4 separate regions of the Homo sapiens genome follow, and regions 2, 3 and 4 are each linked to region 1. Evidence: promoter capture Hi-C in human tissues and cell types (Jung and others, 2019). All regions are on one chromosome and are shown on one strand. Each heading gives the region's core, a stretch centred on a gene start or on the middle of the fragment in contact. The rest is flanking DNA. Distances are from core to core; before and after follow the strand shown. Region 1 holds the start of RNF112 (ring finger protein 112). Region 2 overlaps ULK2 (unc-51 like autophagy activating kinase 2). Region 3 has its middle 20 kb from the start of ALDH3A1. Region 4 overlaps SLC47A2 (solute carrier family 47 member 2).

What was found. The method cuts DNA at HindIII sites, captures the fragments that hold promoters and counts their contacts. A contact is called where the count stands out against the background at its distance.
Region 2: a fragment that was not itself captured here is called in contact with the fragment with the promoter of RNF112 in region 1 in 2 of the 25 tissues and cell types used here (dorsolateral prefrontal cortex and thymus).
Region 3: a contact is called between a fragment that was not itself captured here and the fragment with the promoter of RNF112 in region 1, in 5 of the 25 tissues and cell types used here (dorsolateral prefrontal cortex, mesenchymal stem cells, ovary and 2 more).
Region 4: a fragment that was not itself captured here is called in contact with the fragment with the promoter of RNF112 in region 1 in 2 of the 25 tissues and cell types used here (dorsolateral prefrontal cortex and lymphoblastoid cells).

Annotation. Positions count from the first base shown.
Region 1 is chr17:19,409,550-19,412,773 of GRCh38, reverse strand. It overlaps RNF112 (ring finger protein 112), which reads right to left and starts at 1,542. Exons shown (of 14, transcript NM_007148.5): 1 at 1,312-1,542; 2 at 1,104-1,144; 3 at 1-276. The coding sequence starts at 1,365. The HindIII fragment of the contact is 25,812 bases long and covers 1-3,224 here.
Region 2 is chr17:19,855,460-19,858,683 of GRCh38, reverse strand. The region is part of intron 3 of ULK2 (unc-51 like autophagy activating kinase 2); the gene reads left to right. Among named protein-coding and RNA genes, the nearest start is that of TRG-CCC3-1, 3.8 kb to the left of the region's middle. The HindIII fragment of the contact is 7,474 bases long and covers 1-3,224 here.
Region 3 is chr17:19,766,577-19,769,800 of GRCh38, reverse strand. No RefSeq gene overlaps it. Among named protein-coding and RNA genes, the nearest start is that of ALDH3A1, 20 kb to the right of the region's middle. RefSeq lists an enhancer at 2,888-3,037. The HindIII fragment of the contact is 9,349 bases long and covers 1-3,224 here.
Region 4 is chr17:19,696,925-19,700,148 of GRCh38, reverse strand. The region is part of intron 13 of SLC47A2 (solute carrier family 47 member 2); the gene reads left to right. Among named protein-coding and RNA genes, the nearest start is that of SLC47A2, 18 kb to the left of the region's middle. The HindIII fragment of the contact is 3,572 bases long and covers 1-3,224 here.

The DNA.
Region 1 (3,224 bases), core at 293-2,792:
GGGGGCAGCGGCCGCTGCGGCAGGAGCTTCATCTTCTCGCCCAGGCTCCGGAGGCCCCTCTTCTGCTTGCATATCTTCCGGCACTCAGGACAGCAGGGCGGCTCACAGCCCGGGAGACGGTGTGTGCTGAAGCACCGTATGCAGAAGTCGTGGCCACAGTCCAGCGAGATGGGGTCGCGCAACCTCTCCAGGCAGATGGAGCAGGTAGGGAGCTCCCGGGGCGCCATGGGCTGGGGCCCCAGGCCTAGCTCCAACTTGGGGAAAGGTGTATGGGACCTGTGGGGCAAAACAGGCCATTGAAAAGCAGGATGTCTATTGGGGGCAGGGGGTACCGGCCAGGGTTGTGGTGGAAGACTGATGGCTTGGGAGTGGAGGTCCCTTTGTGCCAACCCAATTTCCATCAGTGCCTCCATGGACAGGCGGAGCTGCTCCCAGAGAGGCCAAGCTCTGCCCGTTCCTCACTGACATGTGTCCTAGGACCTGGGGGCCTCAGAGTGGGGGCAGCAGAGCAATGGTGAGAGAGTCTGAGAGGGAGAAAATCTGAGTGGAATGGACTCCACCACATCCCAGCCATGCAAATGCAAGCAAGTTCCTTCCCCTCTCTGGGCCTCAATTTCCTAACTGTCCCAATGGAGAGGATAGCAATACCCCTCATGGGGCCGTTGGGGTGGCCATCCGAGAGGAGGCGTGTGCAGCTGTCTGCACAGTGCCTGGTGCAAATGCTTGGGAAGAGCCTCTCCCGGCGTTCTACAGCGGGGCTCCCTCCATGAGGTGCTGACTTCAGCCAGGCCCCCAGGGATGATACCCTCCACAACCCCATGCTACAGGGACAGTGAGGAGAAGCCATCAGCCTGTGCTGCAGTTGGGCAGATGGCTCTGGATCTTAGAAGATTCCTTCCGCTCTCTGCTCTGAGCTGGCATCTGCCTCCCTGCAGCACCCACCTGCTTCTTCCTGTCCCTCCCTCCACAGCCTGGCGGATCCAGCCTCAGGCGGACAGCCCTCCCGGCTGGGCTGCCGGGCTCTGTGTTCCAGGACCGGCCATTTCAACTGACCTGCCTGGCCTCACTGCACCCATCCCAGCCTGGAAGGCCCTGCTACTTACCAACTGTTGCCGCTGTTTCCCATGAAGCTCTGTTTTCTCTCCTTGGAGAAAAAAAAAAAAAAAAAAGATTTAGAACATAATCCAGACTTCTATCTTCACCCTGGATTTCCAGGGACCCCTCATCCTCCCCACCCCCGGCCCATCCCCCAGCCCAAGGAGGGCCCTTCCCACCCCACTCTCCTTCCCGATCTTAGGACTGAAGACTTGCCCGTTTGCCAAGCCGATGACAAAAGGAAGTGACTGACAAGGCGGGCCTTGGCATGGGAGGCTGGGATGGGGAGAGGGTCCGGATGCAGAGGGGGAGGCCCCGAGACCTTCAACCAGAGGTAAGGATGCCTTTTCTCCCGGAAAGGCTAGCAGGCTGCGGTAGGTAGAAGGTGAGGTCGGGGGATGGTATCCCCGAGGAGCTGACTCCCGGTCAGAGCTGGAAAAGAAATGTGACAGTCAGGAAAGAGGAGGCTGCTGCTGGACTCACCCCAGGGGGAGGAGACACGGCTGCGGGTAGCAGGGCTCCGAGGAGGGAGGGATGGAGCCCGGCTCAGAATCCCTGGCAGAGGCTGGGATGCAGGCAAGCCGAGGTGGTGAGTCGCCATGGAGACAGAAGGGAAAGATAAGGACAGGGAGGGGGAGGGGGACAGAGAGGGAGAAGGCGTGCGGTGCACCCGCAAACATGGAGGCGCCTCCGGCAGAACCATGGGCCAGCACTGCCTCTACTGGGCCAGCTGAGGTCTCCCCAGGGCCACAGGACAGGGTGGGCAAAGAGAAGAGGTGTGAGAAACAGGAGAGGGTAAGACCAGAGCTGACCCAGAGACAAGGAGTTATTCATCCATTCATCCAATGAACAGTTACTGAGTACCTACTATGTACAGAGCCCCCAAATGCAGACCCTACTTCACATGGCCCTGCACATCCTCCTGCTCTCTCTCAGGTTTATGTCATCGACGCCCAACCCAGCTGCAGCCTTCTTCAGCACTCATGGGCCCTCCGTGTCCTCTGGTGTATTTCCCTCCCAATAGCTTTCACTCTGCCTCAAACTTGAGCAGGATGAAATCTATCAAAACTATGAGCCACCTCTGGACCTTCTAATGGCCTCTTGACTGGGCTCCTTGCCTCCCTTCCACTCCCCAGTGCACAGCCAGCATAGGCTCCCCAAGCACAGATGACCTCACACTGCGCAAACACCTTTTGTGTCTCCCTACTACCATCAGATCAAAATCCAAACTCTCCGGCCTGCGGACTGGGCTGAACCTTCCTTCCACCCTTCTCTCGCCCCACTCTTCCCTGCCTCTGCACCCTGGCTTGGCTGCTCTGCTCCTTCTCATCCCTCCTGGGACACCCTCTTAGGCCCAGTGCAGGTGCTGTGGCCTCCCTAGAGCCTCCTTTCCTCACCCCTCCCAACTGGGTGCGGTCTTGTTCTTGGACAGTTGAGGGCTGGGATATGTGATAGGCTTGGCGCAGCCCAGGCTTCAGAGCCAGGCAGATCTGGGCTTGATTCTCGGCTCAGGGGCTCTGGGACTCCACTGCACCTCTCTGTGCTCTGAGGAGCCACCATTACCTATGTAAAGCCACTAGTCCAGGCACGGGAGTCATTCGTACATCCTATGAGCTAGGATGCAGAAGGGTTGGGGTGAGGTGGGATTCAGAACCTAGAAAAGTTCAGCAGAGACCACCTTCAGCAGGTGGAGACACCCCTGAAGCTGGGGCTGGATCTTGTTCATTTTGGTGTCTGGAGGGCCTGAGATTGTGGGGCTGAATCAATCAGATTCAGAGAAGCAGTGCCATAGACTCTGCCTCCTCCTGCCCCAGGTGGGACAAGCCCCTGTGTGTTGGCAGCAAAGCCTCACACTCAGGGGATGAGGAAGCAAGCCTGAGCCGTGCCACAGCTCTGCCTTCAGGGCAGAAGGGAGGGTTTTCTCAACCCCTGTAGCCTTTCATCCTTGCAGGAGAGAAAGCGTGGGCGCTGGACTCAGATTCAAGCTCTAAACCTGCCTCCATCCCAGCATGAAATGCTGGTGAGTCACTGCCCTCTCTGAGCTTCCATTTGCTCATCACCAGGCAAAGATGTGAGGAAGCAGATGGGACAATCAGTCTTCACTTAATGATACTTACTGAGCACCAGGT
Region 2 (3,224 bases), core at 375-2,874, 450 kb before region 1:
TTTTTTTTTTCTTAAACCATTAGGGTATCAGTCATCTTTTTGCTGTATTTGTCTTTTTACATTTCTTCTGTGACGTTCCCATTGCTGTCCTATGATGCATAGGTTGTGTTCATTTTTCTTACTGGTTTATTTGTGACTAGTATTTCTTGAGCTGGTTAATGAGATGTACAGGCGTATAGTGGTGAACAAAGTAGAAATGGTCCTTGTCATTGTGGAACTCTTACAGGATATTAGGGAAGATGACATTAAGCAAATAGTTACTATTTCTTTTTTTTTTCTTTTTTGAGACAGGGTCTGGCTCTCTTGCCCAGGCTGGAGTGTGGTGGCATGACCACACCTCACTGCAGCCTCCACCCTTTGGGCTTAAGCCATCCTCCCACCTCAGCCTTCAAAGTATCTGGGACTACAGGCAGGCACCACCATGCCTGGCTAATTTTTCTATTTTTTGTAGAGATGGAGTTTCACCATGTTGCTCAGCCTGGTCTCAAACTTCTGAGCTTAAGCGACCTGCCCAGCTTGGCTTCCCAAAGTGCTGGGATTACAGGCGTGAGCCACCACACCCGGGCCAATAGTTACTATTTCCAAGTGTGCCAAGTGCTGTAAGGGAGAGCTCTTGGCGAGGTTTGAACAATATGGGGCCTAGGAAAATGGGACAAGGGAAGGCTTCCTGGGGAAATGATATCTGTAGAGACTGAGGGATGGGTGGGAGAAGGCTAGGTGGGGGTTAATGGGAGAAAATAAAGTAAGTTTCCCAAGGAGATGAAGGCTTCTGTAAAGACCACTGACAGGAGAGATCACTGAGTTTGAGGAACTGGAAGAAGGCTAGTGTGTCTGGAGTACAGTAATGAGAGCGAGAGCATAGTGTTAGATGATACTGGAGAGGTTAGCAGGAGCCAGATCTGATCTTTATCTTAAGGACAGTACAAAGCTATTGAAGAGTTTTAAAAGCAGGAGAGTGATACCGTTTTTGTTTTTCAAAAGATAAATCTCCTAGAGCACTCTGAGCATGAGATAAGTACTTTCACTTAGGAATACATAACTGTGTGATTGTCAGTGGCCTGGTTAAATATCTACCTCTTGGTAATTTTTAGTATCGCAAGAAAAAGATGATTAATTTAATAGGTGGTGCTCATAAAACTGAGACATCTGACAAAAAATAGAATTGGAACACCATTCTCATCATTTTCCAAAATCATTTCCAAATGAATTAAAAGCTTAAATATATAAAGTAAACAATAACAGTCTCAGAATAATATTTAAATGACTGTACAATCCAAGGGATGGAAAGACATTTTAAATCAAGATAAGAAACTCAGAAGCTGTAGTATCAGAAGCTCTAGTAGGGACATGTAAAACATTTTTTTTTTTTTTTTTTTGAGACAGAGTCTCACTCTGTCACCCAGGCTGGAGTGCAATGCCGTGATCTTGGCCCACTGCAACCTCCACCTCCCAGGTTCAAGCAATTCTCCCTGCCTCAGCCTCCTGAGTAGCTGGGATTACAGGCGCCCCGCCACCACACCTGGCTAATGTCTGTATTTTTGGTAGAGACGAGGTTTTGCCGTATTGGCCAGCCTGGTCTCGAACTCCCGACCTCAGGTGATCTGCCCGTCTTGGCCTCCCAAAGTGTTGGGATTACAGGTGTGAGCCACCGTGCCTGGCTATAAAAAATTTTAAAACTCTTTTTTTTTTTTTTTTTTTTTTTTTTTGGAGATGGAGTCTCGCTTTGTCACCAAGGCTGGAGTGCCGTGGTGCGATCTCGGCTCACTGCAAGCTCCACCTCCTGGGTTGACACTATTCTCCCACCTCAGCCTCCCGAGTAGCTGGGACTACAGGCGCCTACCACCATGCCTGGCTAATTTTGTTTTTGTATTTTTTAGTAGAGACGGGGTTTCACCGTGTTAGCCAGGATGGTCTCGATCTCCTGACCTTGTGATCTGCCCGCCTCGGCCACCCAAAGTGCTGGGATTCCAGGCGTGAGCCACTGCACCCGGCCGTAAAACTCGTTTTATAGCAAATAATACAATGAACAAATTGACATATATAAAAAGGAACAAACGATACATGTCATAACGTGAATTTCAAACTTTTTTTTTTTTGTGTGTGTGACGGAGTCTCGCTCTGTCGCCCAGGCTAGAGTGCAGTGGCGCGATCTCGGCTCACTGCAAGCTCTGCCTCCCAGGTTCCCCTCATTCTCCTGCCTTAGCCTCCTGAGTAGCTGGGACTACAGGCACCTGCCACCATACCCGGCTAATTTTTTGTATTTTTAGTAGAGATGGGGTTTCACTGTGTTAGCCAGGATGGTCTTGATCTCCTGACCTCGTGACCCGCCTGCCTCGGCCTCCCAAAGTGCTGGGATTACAGGCGTGAGCCACCGCGCCCGGCCTCAAACATTATTTTGAGAAAAATAAGCATGCCATATACTGCTACAGTATAATTCTGTTTTTGTGAATTTTGGGAAGAGTCAGAAGTAAGCTAGGGTGATAGAAATCAGAACAGAGGTTGACTCTTGGTCCCAGGGAGTGATAGGAAAGGGGCATGAGAGAACTTCTTGGGGTGATGGAATTGTTATGTATTTTGATTGGCAGGGTAGATACGTAGGTGTAAACATTTGTCACAACACATTGAACTGTACATTTATTTTTATTTTTAAATACTTATTTAGAAATGAGGTCTTACTCTGTTACTCAGGCTGGAGTGCATTTCTTCTGTGGTGCCATCATATCTCACTGCAGCCTCTAACTCCTGGGCTCAAGCGATCTTCCTGCCTTTGCCTCCTGAGTAGCTGTGATTACAGGCCTGTGCCACCATGCTCAGTGTATACCGTTATTAAAAAGAAAGAGCTATTTATATCTGGGTAAGAAAGAATGTTGGTATCAATGGAGACAGAGGCCTGGACAGATTAGTGAGATGTTTAGGAGATAGAATTGTTAGGACTTGGGCACTTGGACTGTAGGAGGTAAACAAGAGGGAATCAGAGTTGATAGCTCTTTGTCATGTTTTGAGATATTTTTCCCATTTTGTTTGGTATTTTTGTGGGGGGGTCTTACTTTAGACTTTTTTTCCTTTTTTTTTTTTTTTTTTTTTGAGATGGAGTCTTGCTCTGTTGCCCAGGCTGGAGTGCAATGGCACAGTCTCGGCTCACTACAACCTCCGCCTCTCGGATTCAAGTGATTCTCCTGCCTTAGCTTACCCAGTAGCTGGGATTACAGGCACCTGCTACCACA
Region 3 (3,224 bases), core at 290-2,789, 360 kb before region 1:
AATTATTTTAGAGGGTGGGTGAGACTTGTTTGTTTGTTTGAGGCGGAGTCTTGTTCAGTCACCCAGGCTGGAGTGCAGTGGTGCGATCTCAGTTCACTGCGACGTCCGCCTCCCAGGTTCAAGTGATTCTCCTGCCTCAGCCTCCCAAGTAGCTGGGATTACAGGTGCCCACCACTAGGCCTGGCTAATTTTTTGTGTGTTTTTAGTAGGGATGGGGTTTCAGCATGTTGGCCAGGCTGGTCTCAAACTTCTGGCCTTCAATGAACCACCGCCTCAGCCTCCCAAAGTGCTAGGATTACAGGAGACATTTAATTTTATATTCCATAATGCTGATATTTTTCACCATGAGCTTATATAATTAAAAAAAAATTTTTTTTTTTTTTTTGAGACAGAGTGTCACTCTGTTACCCAGGCTGCAGGCTGGAGTGCAGTGGCACGATCGCAGCTCACGCAACCTCTGCTTCATGGGTTCCAGCTATTCTCCCACCTAAGCCTCCCAACTAACTGGGATTACAGGTGTGTGCCACCACGGCTGGCTAACTTTGTGTGTGTGTGTGTGTGTGTGTGTATTTTTTTGAGATGGAGTCTCACTCTGTCGCCTTGGCTAGAGTGCAATGGCGTGATCTCGTCTCACTGCAACCTCTGCCTCCTGGGTTCAAGTGATTCTCCTGCCTCAGCCTCCTGAATAGCTGGAATTACAAGCACGTGCCACCATGCCCAGCTAATTTTTGTATTTTTAGTAGAGACGGTTTCACCATGTTGGCCAGGCTGGTCTCGAACTCCTGACCTCAGGTGATCCGCCCACAGCCTCCCAAAGTGCTGGGATTATAGGCATGAGCCACTGTGCCTGGCCTAATTATGTAATTTTTAAAAACAAGGTTTTTTTAAGTATAGGAAAACTAAAAGACTAGGAAAGATTTGCAGTAAATTCAACAGATGAAGGGAGGTTAAAGTAGGGGAAAATGTTAGGAGAAAATCCAGAAATTCTCTTTGCTCCTGACAGCCCCACTTCACCAATGGTGAGCAGCAGAGGGGCCTGAAAGGGTAGTGGGTTTGAGAGGCCCTGGTGTCCTGTGGGGCCCTGCCACATGCCCTGGTTGCCTCCTGTGTGCGCCGACACTGACCTGGGTGAGACGCCTCACTCCCTGGGCTTCCCTGTCCTTGTCAGTAAAGCAGAGACAGAAACACAACATGCCTCTTGGGTTTCCTGCAAGAGTTAAATGAGCTGCCGTGGAAAGTGCACATGGCAGTCCCTCCCTGAGGCTGGTGTGGCCAGCAGTGGGAGTAGCAGAGGGAGGCTGAAAGGACACGGGAGGCCTCAGGATCCACTCTGTTGTTTCTCCTCATTGGCCATCAGATGTGCTTCCTCTTTGTCACATCTGTATTTTGGAAACGTAAACCCTCCTTTCCATGGAACATGTGCTAAAATAACATTTCTTAGAAAAATTGGTCTCAAGAATATATCGTTCACTCAGTAACAAAGGAGTCAGCAGTGTGACAAATGTCAATTCAAAACGGACCTGAAAACTGAGGTCTGTTTTGGAAACAGGATGCTTATTACATAAGTAATTTGTGAAAAATAAGTTGCTTATTTTGGTAAAGGTCACAGTTTCCTTTTACGTCTATGGTCATAGAAACATTATATGGGTTGTTACGGAGGAAGTCTGGGGCAGGATGGTCCAAGATAACCAGGTGTGTAGACCAGGGGTTGACAAGCTTTTCCTGTACTGAAAAATACAAATATTTTAGGTTTTGAAGACTGTCTGGTCTCTGTCGCAACTGCAGGAGTCCCACCTTATTCATGAGGTTATGCTCCAAGACCCCCCAGTGGATGTCTGAAACCTTGGAAACTGCCAAACCATATATGTATGCTGTTTTTCTCTATACAATCACATAGTATAGGGTGGATCACATATGCGGCGTGGACATGACAGACAAAGGGAATGATTTGTGTCCCAAGTGGGATGGCAGAAGACTACATCACACTGCTCAGAATGGTGTGCAACTTAAAACTTAGGAATTGTTTATTTCTGGAATTTTCCATTGTTTTCTTTCTTTCTTTTTTTTTTTTTTTTTTTTGAGACAGAGTCTCTGTCGCCCAGGCTGGAGTGCAGTGGCATGATCTTGACTCACTGCAACCTCTGCCTCCTGGGTTCAAGTGATTCTCCTGCCTCAGCCTCCCCATTAGCTGGGATTACAGGCCTTGTGCCATCACGCCCAGCTAATTTTTACATTTTTTGTAGAGACGGGGTTTCGCCATGTTGGCCAGTCTGGTCTTGAACTCCTGACCTCCGGTGATCTGCCAGTCTCAGCCTCCTGAAGTGCTGGGATTACCGGCGTGAGCCACCGCATCCAGCCTTAAACAGAATTTAATGAACTGTTAGTTTACAGCATGCAAATTTTTCTCCATTGGTAGTTTTGGAACATACTTGTTTTTCTGCTGCTTTGAGAAATGAGGTGTTCTACTTTTAATCTTCCTGTGTGTTATTTGGACAAGTTACCTTCCCATCCTGAGCCTCAGTTTTTCCATCCATTAGAGAAGATAAGAGGACTACTACTTTCTAATCCTACCTGTGTGGGGAAAATGCTCTTTGCACAGTGCCTGGCATTTAGCAAGTGCTCAACAAATGGTGGCAGCAAGCAAAGTGAAGCTCTCCCTGCCATGCTGGGATCTGATGCCCCTGTTCCTAGCAACAGCTGCCTACAGTGCCGGGGAGCCAGGCCTTGGGCTGTTGCCCTGTCTCTCAGCAGGGCTATGTAAGCATATTGATTTTTGCAAAACCAAGTTCTGGTTCCTTGCTGTGGGGCTGACAAAAAACCATGGGGTCGATCCTCTATAAATATTTTAGCTATGTCCTCTGTTTTTTAAATACAAAATGTGTACTCTAGCCCTTGCCTGTCTGAATTGAAACAAACTCTTTTGAGGTCATGTGCCTCTGGACCCCCACAGCCACACACTGTCAGCGGCAGGCCCCACCCCTGGGACTCATGTCCCACCTCAGTGCCTTCTCTGCCTTTGGAGAAGGAGCTTAGGTCAGGCCCCACACACCTGTCCAGCCCCATGTGTCTCCCCGACCAGCCCTACTGCCAGCAGCGCCCCGTGGGCTGAGCCAGACCTGGGCCAGCCCTCAACCGGCAGAGGGCGCCCGCCCCCAGGCAGTGAGGCTTCTCAGGCTGCTCCCTGAGAAAGGACAGTGTCTTGCATGGGGAGGGGAGAAGGGACA
Region 4 (3,224 bases), core at 245-2,744, 290 kb before region 1:
AGAATTTCCTGGAGACTGTTTTGTAGTTAATCCCTGCTCCCATCTCCTGCCCTGGGCAATCCACTGCATTGCTTTCTGTCTGTATGAACAATTTCATATAAGTAGGGTCTTATGATATGCAGTCCTGTGTCTGGCTGCTTCTCCTTAGCATACTGTTTTTGAGGTTCATCAATGCTGCAGCATGCGTCACTGCTTCATTCCTTTTATTACCGAGTAGTTCCATTGTATGGAAATACTGCCTTTGTTTATCCATTCATCAGTGGATGGACATTTGGGTTGTTTCTAGTTTTTGCTATCATCAATAATGCTGTTTAGAATGTTCACGTGGAAGTCTTTGTGTGGATTTGTTTTCATTTCTTTTAGTAGAGTTCTGGGAGTTGAACTGTTAAGTCAAATGATAACTTTATTTTTAGCTTTTTAAGAAACTGCCAGCCAGGTGCAGTAGAGCTCATGCCAGCATACCAGTGCTGGTAATCCCAGCACTTTGGGAGGCTGAGGTGGGAGGATCATTTCAACCAAGGAGTTTGAGACCAGCCTGGGCAACATAGGGAGACCCTATCTCTACAAAAGTTTTTAAAAATTAGCTGGGGGAGGGGGTCGGCGGGGAGGCGGGGTTGGCACACACCTATAGTCTTCGCTACTTGGGAGGCTGAGGCAGGAGGATTGCTTGAGCCCAACAGTCCAAGGCTATAGTCAGCTATGATTATACCACTGCACTCCAGCCTGGGCAACAGAGTGAGACCCCCATCTCTAAAAATAAAGTAAAATAAAAAATTTTAAAAAGTCACGGTGTAACCCAAATTCACCTAAATTTTCTATTATTTTGTAGGAGTTTTATACTTTTGCATGTTGCTTTTATGTCTGTGGTTTTAACTTTTGTAAAACAGGATATCTAAATTCATTATTTTGTATGTGGATGTCCAGTTGTTCCAGTACCATTTCTTGGAAAAAAAAAACTAGGCTTTCTCCAGTTGCCTTTGCTCCTTTGTCAAAATCAGTTGACTGTATTTGTATGGGTCTATTTCTGGGCTCTCTCTTCCATTCCAGTGATCTTTTTTGTCTATTCTTTCACCAATAGAATCATTCCTAGGTATCCTTGGGCAATTGGTTCCAGGACCCCGCAAGGTACCAAAATCCACAGATGCTCAAGTTCCTGATATAAAACGGCAGAGAATTTGCCTATAACCTATGCCCATCCTCCTATGAGTTTAAATCATCTCTAGATTACTTATAATTCCTAGTACAATGTAAAAGCTATGTAACAGTTGCTATGCTGTTTATTTTTTTATTGTTGTATTATTGTTTTTCAAATATTTTTGATCCATGGCTGGTTGCATCCACGGATGCAGAAGCTGTGGGTATGGAGGGCTGGCTATATACTTAACACTGCTGACCTGTACACTTAAAAACATTTAAGACAGCACATTTTATGTGTATTTTATCAAAATTAAAAGAATTTTTTTTAATCAACCCTGACATAAAGTATTGATACAAGGCTGGGTGCAGTGGCTCATGCTTGTAATCCCTGGACTTTGGGAGGCTGAGGCAAAGGAGGTCCTCACTTGAGGTCAGGAGTTCAAGACCAGCCTGGCCAACATGGCGAAACCTGTCTCTACAAAAAATACAAAAATTAGCCAAGCATGGTGGCACATGTCTGTAATCCCAGGTACTCCAGTGGCTGAGCATGAGAATTGCTTGAAGCCGGGAGGTGGAGGTTGCAGTAAGCCAATATTGCGCCACTGTACTCCAGCTTGGATGACAGAGCAAGACTCTGTCTCAAAAAAATAAATAATAAAAAAAGTACTGATACGAGAAGTAACTGAGCTAACATGTATGAAAGTGTCTGAAACACAGTAGCCATTTAATAGACATTAGGGTTGACTATAATGCAACAGACAAGACCTTGTGGACAACTTTACCATGCTGTCTTGATCACTGCAGCTTTATAGTAATTCTCGAAATTGGGTAGTATCACTCCTCCAACATCGCTTTTCTTTGTAAATGTTGCGTTTTGAGTCTTTTCCCTTTCTACATAAGCTTTAGAATCAGTTTGTCAATATCTACAAAACAAGCTGCTGGATGGCTTTTCCTTTCTTGTTGCAGCCATCCCAGTGGGGATATGCTACTATGTCACTGTGGTCTCAGTGTGCATTTCTCTAATGACGAGCCCCTTTTTGTGTGTTTATCATTCATTCATATGTAGCCTTCAGTGAAATTTCTATTTTAGTCTTTTGCCCATTTTAAAAATTAAGTAGGCTAGGTGTGATGACTCAAGTCTATAAAACCATCACTTTGGGAGGCTAAAGAAAGAGGTTGGCTTGAGCCCGGGAGGTCAAGACCAGCCTTGGTGACATGGCAAGATACCATCTCTACAAAACATTAAAAAAAAAAAAAAAAGCTGGGCATAGTGGTGCATATCTGTAGTCCCAGCTACTAGGGAGGCTGAGGTGGGAGGATAGCTTGTGCCCAGAAGTTCAAGGCTGCAGTGAGCTATGACTGCATCACTGCACTCTGGGCTGGGTGACAGAGCAAGGCCCTGTCTCAATCTACAAAATAAATAAAACAAATTTTAAAAATATGAAAATATAATATTTGGTAGCTGGTTGTATTTGCTTGCTAAGTGCTTTGGTTTGAATGTGTCCTCCGAAGTTCATATGTTTATGTAACAGTGTTGAGAGATAGAACTTTTTTTGGTTGTCTTTTTGTTTTTTTGAGACAAAGTCTCATGATGTCACCCAGGCTGGTCTTGAACTCCTGGCCTCAAGCAACCCTCCTGCCTCAGTCTCCCAAAGTGTGCCCTGTCGAGGTGGGACCTTTAAGAGAAGGATTAATGTCATTATCTTTTTCCTTTGAGACGGAGTCTTGCTCTGTCTCCCAGGCTGGAGTGTAGTAGCACGATCTCAGCTCACTGCAAGCTCCACCTCCCGGGTTCATGCCATTCTCCTGCCTCAGCCTCCCGAGTAGCTGGGACTACAGGCATGCACCACCTACACCTGGCTAATTTTTTTTATTTTTATTTTTAGTAGAGACAGGGTTTCACCGTGTTAGCCAGGATGGTCTCGAACTCCTGACCTCGTCATCCGCCCGCCTCAGCCTCCCAGAGTGCTGGGATTACAGGCGTGAGCCACCACGCCTGGCCTTAATGTCATTATCTTAAGAGCAGGTTAGTTATTTCAAGAGTCGGTTCCTGACAAAAGGATGAGTCTGGCCCCCTTCCCCTCTTT